Linked DNA regions of Homo sapiens: region 1 is linked to region 2. The links are contacts of gene promoters, found by promoter capture Hi-C in human tissues and cell types (Jung and others, 2019). All regions are on one chromosome and are shown on one strand. Each heading gives the region's core, a stretch centred on a gene start or on the middle of the fragment in contact. The rest is flanking DNA. Distances are from core to core; before and after follow the strand shown.

Region 1 (5,433 bases), core at 1,472-3,971, 1.0 Mb after region 2:
GCACCTGTATTCCCAGCTACTTTCAAGGCTGAGGTGAGAGGATTGCTTCAGCCTAGGAGTTCAAGGCTGCAGTTAGCTATGGTCATGCCACTGCACTCCAGCCTGGGTGACAGAATGGGATCCCATCTTAAAAAAAAAAAACAAAAACAAAACTATTTATTGCTTGTGTCTGCTTTATTTTCAAAGGTCTAACTCATCTTATTACTATGGATTTACACCAGAAGGAAATTCAGGGCTTCTTCAATATTCCTGTTGACAATTTAAGAGCATCTCCCTTCTTATTACAGTATATTCAAGAAGAGGTGAGCTAGCTCAAACTTTTTTATTTTAACATTCTGATTAAGGTTGAAAGATGTATTTCCATTTCCTTAGGATACCCCTAAAGGATTAAAACTTGATGTATTGTACTTAAAGTACCATTATACTTTATAGCTATAATCCAACGCATTTTAGAATTCTGAATCTGCAGTTTGTTTCTTTAGATAAGCTCTTAAAATTGCTTTTTCTTTTGGACCTCAAGTACCTAGAATTGGACTAGATATGATTGTAATGAGTAATTTACTCTCATTACTAGTCTATGCTTGATCCTGGTTCTGTTTTATGTATCCATCTATCCATCCTGTCTCTCTGTCCATCCAGTTATAATAGCCAGCATCCATGATCCCACCTCCCAGCAAGAAAACTAGAGTCATCATCATAACTTAGAGCTGCTCATGGGCTCCTTCTCTGTCCTATCCCCCTGCCTCCTTCCACCCTAGGGAACCACTGTCCTGAAGCGGTGCTGAATCTGTCAGATGCTTTTTCTGTATCAGTGGAGATGATCATTTTTTTTCCTTCATTCTGTTAATGTGGTTTATTACCACCCTTGAATCCTGGGATAAATCAGATGTTTAATTTTAATATAGCTACATTTGTTTTTCTTTGATATGAGTTAGCATTTTTGTGACTTACTATTTAAGAAAGCTTTTAAAATGTTAATTTATACTGTACTTAGCTATTTTGCTTTTAGCTGTTTTTCTTTCTTTTTTTTTTTTTTTGGTGGGGGGTGTGATGGAGTCACTCCCAGGCTGGAGTGTAATGGCGCAATCTCAGCCCACTGAAACCTCCACCTCCCGGGTTCAAGCAATTCTCGAGTAGCTGGGATTACAGGCATGCGCCAACACAGCTGGCTAATTTTTTGTATCTTTAGTAGAGATGGGGTTTCACCATGTTGGCCAGGCTGATCTCGAACGCTGACCTCGTGATCTGCCTGCCTCGGCCTCCCAAAGTGCTGGGATTACAGGCATGAGCCACCGCACCTGGCCTTAGCGGTTTTTCTTATATAAATTATTTCTCTCTTTAATAACTTTTCTAGATAACTTCTTTTTACAGTACTGTATTTAAAAGAAGATAACTTCTTTTTACAGTACTGTATTTAAAAGATGGCAGTTTATAGGTTTCTGAGGAACTTCTTTCTGGTAAGAATACAGGGCTTCCCCATTCTCCAGCAATTGTTATAAGTCCTTATAGAGAAAATGAATTTAAGTATTTTTGAAAGAGAAAAATGTAAAATATTCTGCTTTTTTTTTTTCTTTAAAGTTACACACAAGAAACATAAAAACTCTACGCCAGGCGCAGTGGCTCACGCCTATAATCCCAGCACTTTGGGAGTCTGAGGCGGGTGGATCACTTGAGGTCAGGAGTTCAGACCAGCCTAGCCAACATGGTGAAACCCCATCTCTACTAAAAATACATAATTAGCTGGATGTGGTGGCGCGTGCCTGTAATCCCAGTTACTTGGGAGGCTGAGGCAGGAGAATTGCTTGAACCTGGGAGGTGGAGGTTACAGTGAGCCAGGATTGTGCCACGGCACTCCTGCCTGGGTGACAGAGCGAGACTATCTCAAAAAAACAAAAAAGAAAACAAAAATACTCTAACAAATTAAAAAAATAATAGAGACTTTAATTTTACCTGAAAAATTTTATGTTTTTTTTTTGAGACAGGGTCTTTCTCTGTCACCCAGGTTGGAGTGCTGTAGTGCCATGATAGCTCACTGCAACCTTGAACTCCTGGGCTCAAGAGATTTCTCCCACCTCAGCCTTCTGAGTAGCTGAGACTAGAGGTGTGCCACCACACCTAGCTAATTTTTAAAAAATATTTCCAGAGTCAGAATCTTGCTGTGTTACCCAGGCTGGTCTCAAACTCCTGGCCTCAAGCGATCCTCCTGCCTCAGCCTCCCAAAACAGTGTGATTACAGGTGTGAGCCACTGTGCCTGGCCTAATTTTACCTGAATATTATTCTTAGTTGAGAGAGAAGGTGAGATAAAATTGGCAAATGTCTTGATAGGGAAGGATGAAGAGGTTTAGGCAGAGAGAGAGTGAGAGGGTGAGCATTGAACGTGGTTCAGTTAGCAACCAGCCGCATGGAGAAACCTGTCATTTTGGAAGAAATAGAGCAGTCGCTATAGACTTATGTGGGTTGCTGTCGACATCTTGTTGTTTTAGGGGATGTTTCCATTCAGGACACAGGCATGTTGTGTGCCAATGTCTCAAGGCACAAATGGCAATTGCACCTCTTAAGGGATGCCCGGTGGGTGAGCCTAAAGAACGAAGGCTGGGGCACCCTTGTGCTGGTTGCAAGGTCAGGCTGGAAGCCTAACGCTAGTCATTGCCTGTAGTGCAGGCTTCTACCTGAGGATGACACTGCCTTCTACTTGAAAAAATCCCCATTTTAGTTTCATTGTTGAGAAGAAGTCAGGGCTGAGTGTGGTGGCCCACACCTATAATCCCAGCACTTTGAGAGGCTGAGGAGGTTGGATCAGTTGAGTCCAGGAGTTTAAGACCATCCTCGGCAATATGGCAAAACCCTGTCTCTACAAAAAATATAAAAATTAACCAGGTGTGGTGGTGCATTCCTGTGGTCCCCCCTACTCAAGAGGATGAGAAGTGGGAGGATTGCTTGAGCCTGGGAGGTTGAAGTTGCCCAGGTGGTCGAGGCTGCATCAAGCCGTGATCTGGGCGACAGAGTGAGATTCCTTCTCACAAAAAAAAAAAAAAAAAAAAAAAAAATTAATATGTGGGAACTCAGTGTTAAAAAGGAATTTTTGTGTATTGCTTTTTTCTTTTTTTTGGAGACAGTCTCTCTCTGTCACTCAGGCTGGAGTGCGATTTTGGCTTACTGCAGCCTCCGCCTCCTGGGTTCAAGCAAGCATATCTGGCTAATTTTTGTTTTTTGTTTTTTTTTGAGATGGAGTTTCGCTCTTGTTGCCCAGGCTGGAGTGCAATGGCATGATCTCGGCTCACAGCAACCTCCCCCTCCCAGGTTCAAGTGATTGTCCTGCCTCAGCCTCCCGAGTAGCTGGGGTTACAGGCATGTGCCACCACACCCGGCTAATTTTGTATTTTTAGTAGAGACAGGGTTTCTCCTTGTTGGTCAGGCTGGTCTCGAACTCCTGACCTCAGGTGATCTGCCCACCTTGGCCTCCCAAAGTGCTGGGATTACAGGTGTGAACCACCGCACTTGGCCTAATTTTTGTGTTTTTAGTAGAGATAGGGTTTCACCGTGTTGGCCAGGCTGGTCTTGAACTTCTGAACTCCAGTGATCTGCCTGCCTCAGCTTCCCAAAGTCCTGGTATTACAGGCATGAGCTACTACACCTGGCCTGTATTGCCTTTTTATAGTATACGTATCTTGTCTCTTTTGTTTTCGTGTGTTAGAGCCTCTTAAAGCAGGGGATAGATATTCATGTTTCACTGAATCTAAGGTGCTGTCAGTCCAGGCTTACATTATTTTACGTCACCAAGAAAGAAGAAAACACTGCTAATTATACTGTGGCACTGTGCCTTCTTGTCACTTAGTGATCCTATTCTGCAGGTTTTGATGCTGACGCTTTCTCCATCTCTTGTGTTTGTCACTGGAATTTAAGCACCTTCTGCCAGAGTCAGAAGGAACATTCTGGTACTAGGATGCTCGTTGCCTTGAAATTTTTGCCATCTATACTTTTTTTTTTTTTTGAGACGGAGTCTCACTCTGTCGCCCAGGCTGGAGTGCAGTGGCGCAATCTCAGCTTACTGCAAGCTCCGCCTCCCGGGTTCACGCCATTCTCCTAGGCCTCAGCCTCCCCAGTAGCTGGGACTACAGGCACCTACCACCACGCCTGGCTAATTTTTTTGTAGTTTTAGTAGAGATGGGGTTTCACCGTGTTAACCAGGATGGTCTCAATCTCCTGACCTAATGATCTGCCCGCCTCAGCCTCCCAAAGTGCTGGGATTACAGGTGTGAGCCACCGCGCCCAGCCAACTTTTGCCATCTCTTCTGAGGGCGTCTGACAGTGTCTGTTGCCTTCCGCTGCACTGCTGGGGATGTGTCAGGCAGTCCTTTTCACAGTTTGACCTACTGGTAGGGATCTTCCTTTCTTAAGTTTCATAAAGCATTTGATTGTTGCCTTGCAAGAAAATGTGGAATTGTATCATTTTTCCAGTGATGAATATTTGATTCATGAATATCAAATTATACTCTGATGGTCTCTTCCTGTGTCTTTCTGCATACATGATAATTTTTCTTTTCTTCTTTTTTTTTTTTTTTTTTTTTTTTGAGACGGAGTTTTGCTCTTGTTGCCCAGGCTGGAGTGCAGTGGCGCAATCTCAGCTCATCACAACCTCCGCCTCCCAGGTTCAAGCGATTCTCCTGCCTCAGCCTCCCGAGTAGCTGGGATTACAGGCATGGGCCCCCATACCTGGCTAATTTTGTATTTTTAGTAGAAAGGGGGTTTTCCATGTTGGTCAGGCTGGTCTTGAACTCCCAAACTCAGGTTATCCACCCGCCTCAACCTCCCAGAGTACTGGGATTACAAGCGTGAAGCCACCGTGCCCGGCTTGATAATTTTTCATTTTAATGAAAAATTTTAATGAAAAGAATCATAGTAATTCTTTCTGGAGACATTTTAAATGGGTTCAAACAATTCTCCTGGGTTCAAACAATTCTCCGGCCTCAACCTCCTGAGTAACTGGATTACAGGTGTGCACCACCACGCCTGGCTAATTTTGTTTTGCATTTTTAGCAGCGAGGGGGTTTCACCATGCTGGCCAGGCTGGTCTTGGCTCAGATGTTCTGCCCACCTTGGCCTCCCAAAGTGCTGGGATTATGGGCATGAGCCACCGTGCCTGGCCATCTTTGGGAATTTTTTTTAATCTGTTAAGTATTTCATCCCTTCTATTTCTTTTATTATTTTCCTTTGGGAACTATTAGGTCCTGAAAATTTTGGATCTAGTCTCTATAACTTTTAAAAACTTATTTTACTTTTTGCATACTTATATATAGCATTCTGGGGAAATTCCTTGTCTTGATCTTCCCTGGTTTGTTCTTAAAGTTGTGTTTATTCTGCTGTTAAGCCAGCCAGCTACTGGGTTTCTTTAGACCATAATAACTTCTTCCCCCTAGATTTATTTTTGGTTC
Region 2 (4,894 bases), core at 2,160-4,659:
AGCTAGTAATTGTCACACAACTCAAAAAGTTAACTAAAAATCATTGAATGATATACTAAAAATGGGTAAATTTTGTGATACATAAAGTATACCTCAATAAAGTCGTTTTTAAAAAATTGATGAAGGCCGGGCATGGTGGTTCATGCCCTGTAATCCCAGCACTTTTGAGAGGCTGAGGTGGGCAGATCACCTGAGCTCAGGAGTTCGAGACCAGCCTGGCCAACATGGCCATCTCTACTAAAAATACAAAATTTAACCAGGCGTGGCGGTGCATGACTGTAATCCCAGCTACTTGGGAGCTGGAGAATCTCTTGAACCTGAGAGGCAGAGTTTGCAGTGAGCTGAGATCATGCCACTGGACTACAGCATGGGCAAAAGAGCGAGACCCTGTCTCAAAAAAAAAAAAGTTTATGAAGAGTGTGCACCCATCCCCAAACACATATAAACACACAGAGAGAGAGAGAGAGAGAGAAGAAAAGCTCTTTCACATAATTAGCAGGGCTTATCTCTGGGTGGTAGGTTTAAAGTTTTTTTTGAAACAGAATCTCACTCTGTCATCCAGGCTGAGTGCAACGGCATGGTTATAGCTCACTGCAGCCTCTAAGTCCAGGCTCAAGCAATCCTCCCACTTCAGCCTCCAGAGTAGCTGAGACTACAGGCACATGTCACCCACACCCAGCTAATTTTTTATTTTTGTAGAGACAGGATTTTGTCATGTTGCCCAGGCTGGTCTCAAACTCCTGGACACAAGTCATCCTCTTGCTTCGACCTCCCAAGTGCTGGGATTATAGGTGTGAGCCACCACCCCAGGTCTAAAGATTTTATTTTCTTCTTTTTGCTCACTTGCATTTTCTAAGTTTTCTACAATGAAAAAAGATGTGTGTAATTGGGAAGAAAAACAGGAAGTTTGAATAAAAACTGAAAAATCCTCTACTGAAGTGGGTAAAGCTGAGCCCTGCCTAGTGAGAAGGGGCTGCCCCCAGTCTTCAAGGGGCTGGGACTGCCCCCACTCTCTCATAGACTAGACCTTGGGCCACATGGCTGCCCATGCCTGGCCTTTGGTTCTGGAGAGACAATGTTTTTATCCATGAGTCAGTAAGAAAGGTCTGTATCAGACCTCTGGCCCAGACCAGATTCTGTCAGTAAGAAAGGTCTGGGCTGGGAGCGGTGGCTCACACCTGTAATCCCAGCACTTTGGGAGGCTGAGGCGGGCGGATCACAAGGTCAGGAGATCGAGACCATCCTGGCTAGCACAGTGAAACCCCGTCTCTACTAAAAATACAAAAAATTAGCCAGGCGTGGTGGCTGGCGCCTGTAGTCCCAGCTACTTGGGAGACTAAGGCAGGAGAATGGCGTGAACCCAGGAGGAGGAGCTTGCAGTGAGCCAAAATTGCGCCACTGCAGAAAACAAACAAACAAACAAACAAAGGTCTGTATCAGACCTGTGGCCCAGAACGGGTTCTGTTGTCCAACTTGCCCATGAAGGGAGGGTTTGCATCATTTTTCTGGAGGTGGAAACTAAGGTTTAGAGGGTGAGAGGGCTTGAGCAGGATGACAAAGGAAGTGAGGAGTGTCCAGGTTCAAGTTCTGACCCCAAAGCGCATGTCCTCCTGGCTTGGTCACGTTGCCTCTTGGGACTACACTCACTGGGCCCAGTGATGTGGAACTGGTAGTTGAGTCAGGCCCAGATCTCCCTAGGGCTTGGGATTTCAGGGTTCATCACTCCAGAGGGCAGTGAAGGACAACCCCTCGTGCCAGGGATAGGGGAGGCTGTTTTGGAAAAGCCTCACAATCAGGGCCTCTCCTCTGGGGTCCTCCCCTAGCCCAGCCCCAGGGGGAAGGAGGGAGGGCTGGGAAGCTTCTGGGGCTGGCAACCAGCTGGGCTCATCTGCAAGGCTGCAGTAGGGCAGGAGTGGTGGTGGCATAGATATATCTGTTTTGCCAACCCCAGGGTGGCCACGGGTTCCATGGACATGTCCATTCAGGCTGTGAGTCTAGGCATCTTGTTCCTGCGACCTTGGCCTCAGTTTCCTCATCAACCAAGTGCAACTTAGCTAGTGCTGCTAAAACTCCTGCACAGAAACCATGCAGGCAATTTGCTAGGGGCTTCCGTTTGCTCTATCTACAAAATGGAAGCAACGGGCCTCCTAATTGGCACTTGGTGCCACCATTGGCCCCAAACCCCTTCTCATCACAGCCAGGGTGATGCTCCAAAGATGGAAGCCGGTGCCACTGTTCTGCTCCGCCCTTTCCCTGGCCGACCAAGTCGGTTTGCGTCCTCCTCCTCCCTGACCTCACTCCTTTGCAAGCCTCTAACTCCTCACACTTAGGCCCTGCCTCGAGGCCTTTGCCCTTCCCTTGCCGTGGCCTGGAAAACATCTTTCCTTGCTGGTCCTGGGGGTGACCCTCAGGTCTCAGCTTAGAAGTCCCTGACCGCTCTACCCAAAGTAGCCACATCCCTGCCCTCCCCCAGCCTCGCTCCACCCAAGGTACAACTAAATACCCGTTTGGTTTCCCGGGAGATTTTTGTGTTCCCTAAAAGAGGGGGTACCCAGGTCTGTCTGTAAACCCTCGGTGCCTAAGACGGGGCCTGGCATTCGGTGGATGTCAGTGAATGAGTGCGGAGGCTGTGCCCGTCGCAGACCGGGAGAACCCGACACGAGGCGGGGGAAGGGCGCGAGGCAGCGCCCATGCGCATGCGCAAGAGCTCCGACGCCGAGCTGAACTCTCGGGCCGGAGGGAATGACCGTGAGTAACCTCGCAATTACGTCACGGCTGGGGCTGGGGCGGAGCTTCGGCGACGCCTGGGTCCCCAGCTTCAGCCGTGGCCATCACAGGGCTGGAGAGTCACCGGTCGGGCGGCACCCGGCCTGGGACGCGTAGAGGCGCACGTGTCCCGGCCCGGAGCCGCCAAGGGACCCCGGCCCGGCCCAGGAGCCCTCACCCACAAGCGCGCGGCCCGAGACGCTAGCGCGGGAACCAGGGAGGCTCGGTGAGGCTCGGGACACCGAGCTCAGAGACACCGGGAAGTCCCGCGCGAGCACAGCACGGAGCTGGCGCCCGTGGGGGAGACAAAGGCCAGGGAGACACCTGCGCGCCCCCTACTCGCGCCACCCGGCGCAGCTTCAAGCCCTGCCCGCCCTGACGCACCTTCGATGTCGGTCAGCAGCGCCGCGTCCAGATCGCACGGCTCGCCCAGCGCCTGCTCCAAAGCCGCCTCGCTGAAGGGTGGCTCGTCCATGGCGCAGCCGCCTCCTCCGGGAGGCCCGCCGGGCCCGCCGCCTCGTACGGCCCTTCCTAGGGAGCGCCGCCGCGGCCCCGGCTCTCAGTCGCCGCCGCCGCTCCGCGCGTTCGTGTCCTGCCCTGGCCTCAGAGGCGGCCCGGCGCCGGCGAAAAGTTCCTCGGAAACTGGGTTCCCCCGGCCGCAGCTCTGCTGGGCGGTCGAGGCGGAGGCGGGGCCTTTCGGGGAGGACCCGCCCTCCCAGATAGACGGCCCCGCCCCACCTTGAGAGAGCGGGGGACCCCTGATCCCCGGTCTGCGCCACAAATCTCCCCTCAGCCGGCCCCTCCTCCAGAGCGCCCTCCAGTCATTCATTTTATCCAGCCTCGCGCACAATGGCAGCGGCCTCTGGCCGGCTGCTGCGGGAACGCGGGCAAGCCGAGCCCCCTCTCTGGGCCTCTGTTTCTCCAGCACCAAGCAAGGAAGCCGAGTGGAAGCCCCAGGCCTGGGCCCATCCCAAACTTCATTTCCTCATTTCCTAGATTTGACTCTTTAGAACAAGACAGACCAGGATCCAAGTTATAGGGGTCCCAGGCCTGCTGTGTTGTGAGCAGGCCTGATGTAACTGCTGGGCCAGTTACATCACTCTGCCTCAATTTTCCTCATTTGTAACATGGGCCTAATGATGCTTTCTCACGGGCAGGCTGGGAGGCTAGTGACAATGTGGAGGGGAGCATGACCTGTGAGATCAGCCTGCCCCCTCTCTGCAAAGAAACCAGAAGATTGGCCTCTTGAGGACAGGAGTGGCCAAAGAAAGAGGCTGGAATTTCGTCATCTGGTTTCCTCCCAGATCCAGCTGTAGGGATAGGATACCAGTGGGCCCAGTGCAGCTCCTGAAGGAGGAAGCCAGTACCCAAGGAAGACTGGCCCCAGGGCTGTCTGACCCCAGATTTGGCACTTATTCCCAGGAGCAGCCAGGATAGGGGCCGCAAGGAAGAGGTAGCTGTGCTTTAGATCAGAGCCAGGCTGCCCTGGATCATCACAAGCTGGGACTAGATCAGAGCAGGCAGCCCTGTTGAGAAGAGGGCTGGAAACCGAACCTGGTTCTGTGGCCTAGGGACAGAGCCAGGTGGGGCAGGAAGGAGGGAAGGGGTCCCAATGAGGTGGGTTGAAATAAACCAGAATTAACATTCAGGAATCTGAATGTGATAAGGCAGTGAGCTCCCTGTCCCCAGAGGTATGCAAGCAGAGAGAAGCACCCTTGGTGGAGGGCAGTCCAGGAAACTCATCAGGGGCCTGGGCCTCAGGCCTTCCCGACCCCAGACCTTCATAAGTCAAGCCATCCTGCAGACTGCCTTGCTCAAACTCCAGATATAGCCTATCTGGCCACGCCCTAAGCAGGAGTAACATTCATGATGCATTTTAGAAGGGGTGTGTGGGGGAGAGAAGCCACAGAGCCCAAGTCCCTGGGGCTCAGCCTGGACATCCAGCTCCCTTTGTTCCTCTCCCAGAAGTGGCTGCGGTGGAAAATTACCCAGAATAGCGGCGCCAGAAGTCATAGGGGTCGCCAAACCACATCTCCCCAAGTAGCCCTGCTCAAGGGTCCACCCAGGACCCACTCCCTCCAGATGAACAACTGCTGGAGAACACAGAGAACAAAGCTGGCTTCTCCTC

Evidence for each region. Contacts are between HindIII fragments. The study calls those that stand out against the background at their distance.
Region 1: a fragment that was not itself captured here is called in contact with the fragment with the promoter of SREBF1 in region 2 in 1 of the 25 tissues and cell types used here (aorta).

The regions. Positions count from the first base shown.
Region 1 is chr17:18,882,382-18,887,814 of GRCh38, forward strand. It overlaps PRPSAP2 (phosphoribosyl pyrophosphate synthetase associated protein 2), which reads left to right. Exons shown (of 12, transcript NM_002767.4): 7 at 187-302. Among named protein-coding and RNA genes, the nearest start is that of PRPSAP2, 27 kb to the left of the region's middle. The HindIII fragment of the contact is 9,677 bases long and covers 1-5,433 here.
Region 2 is chr17:17,833,577-17,838,470 of GRCh38, forward strand. It overlaps SREBF1 (sterol regulatory element binding transcription factor 1), which reads right to left and starts at 3,410. Exons shown (of 19, transcript NM_004176.5): 1 at 3,151-3,410. The coding sequence starts at 3,241. RefSeq lists enhancers at 2,285-3,186, 3,187-4,089, 4,090-4,894 and silencers at 2,789-3,068, 3,259-3,418. The HindIII fragment of the contact is 17,140 bases long and covers 414-4,894 here.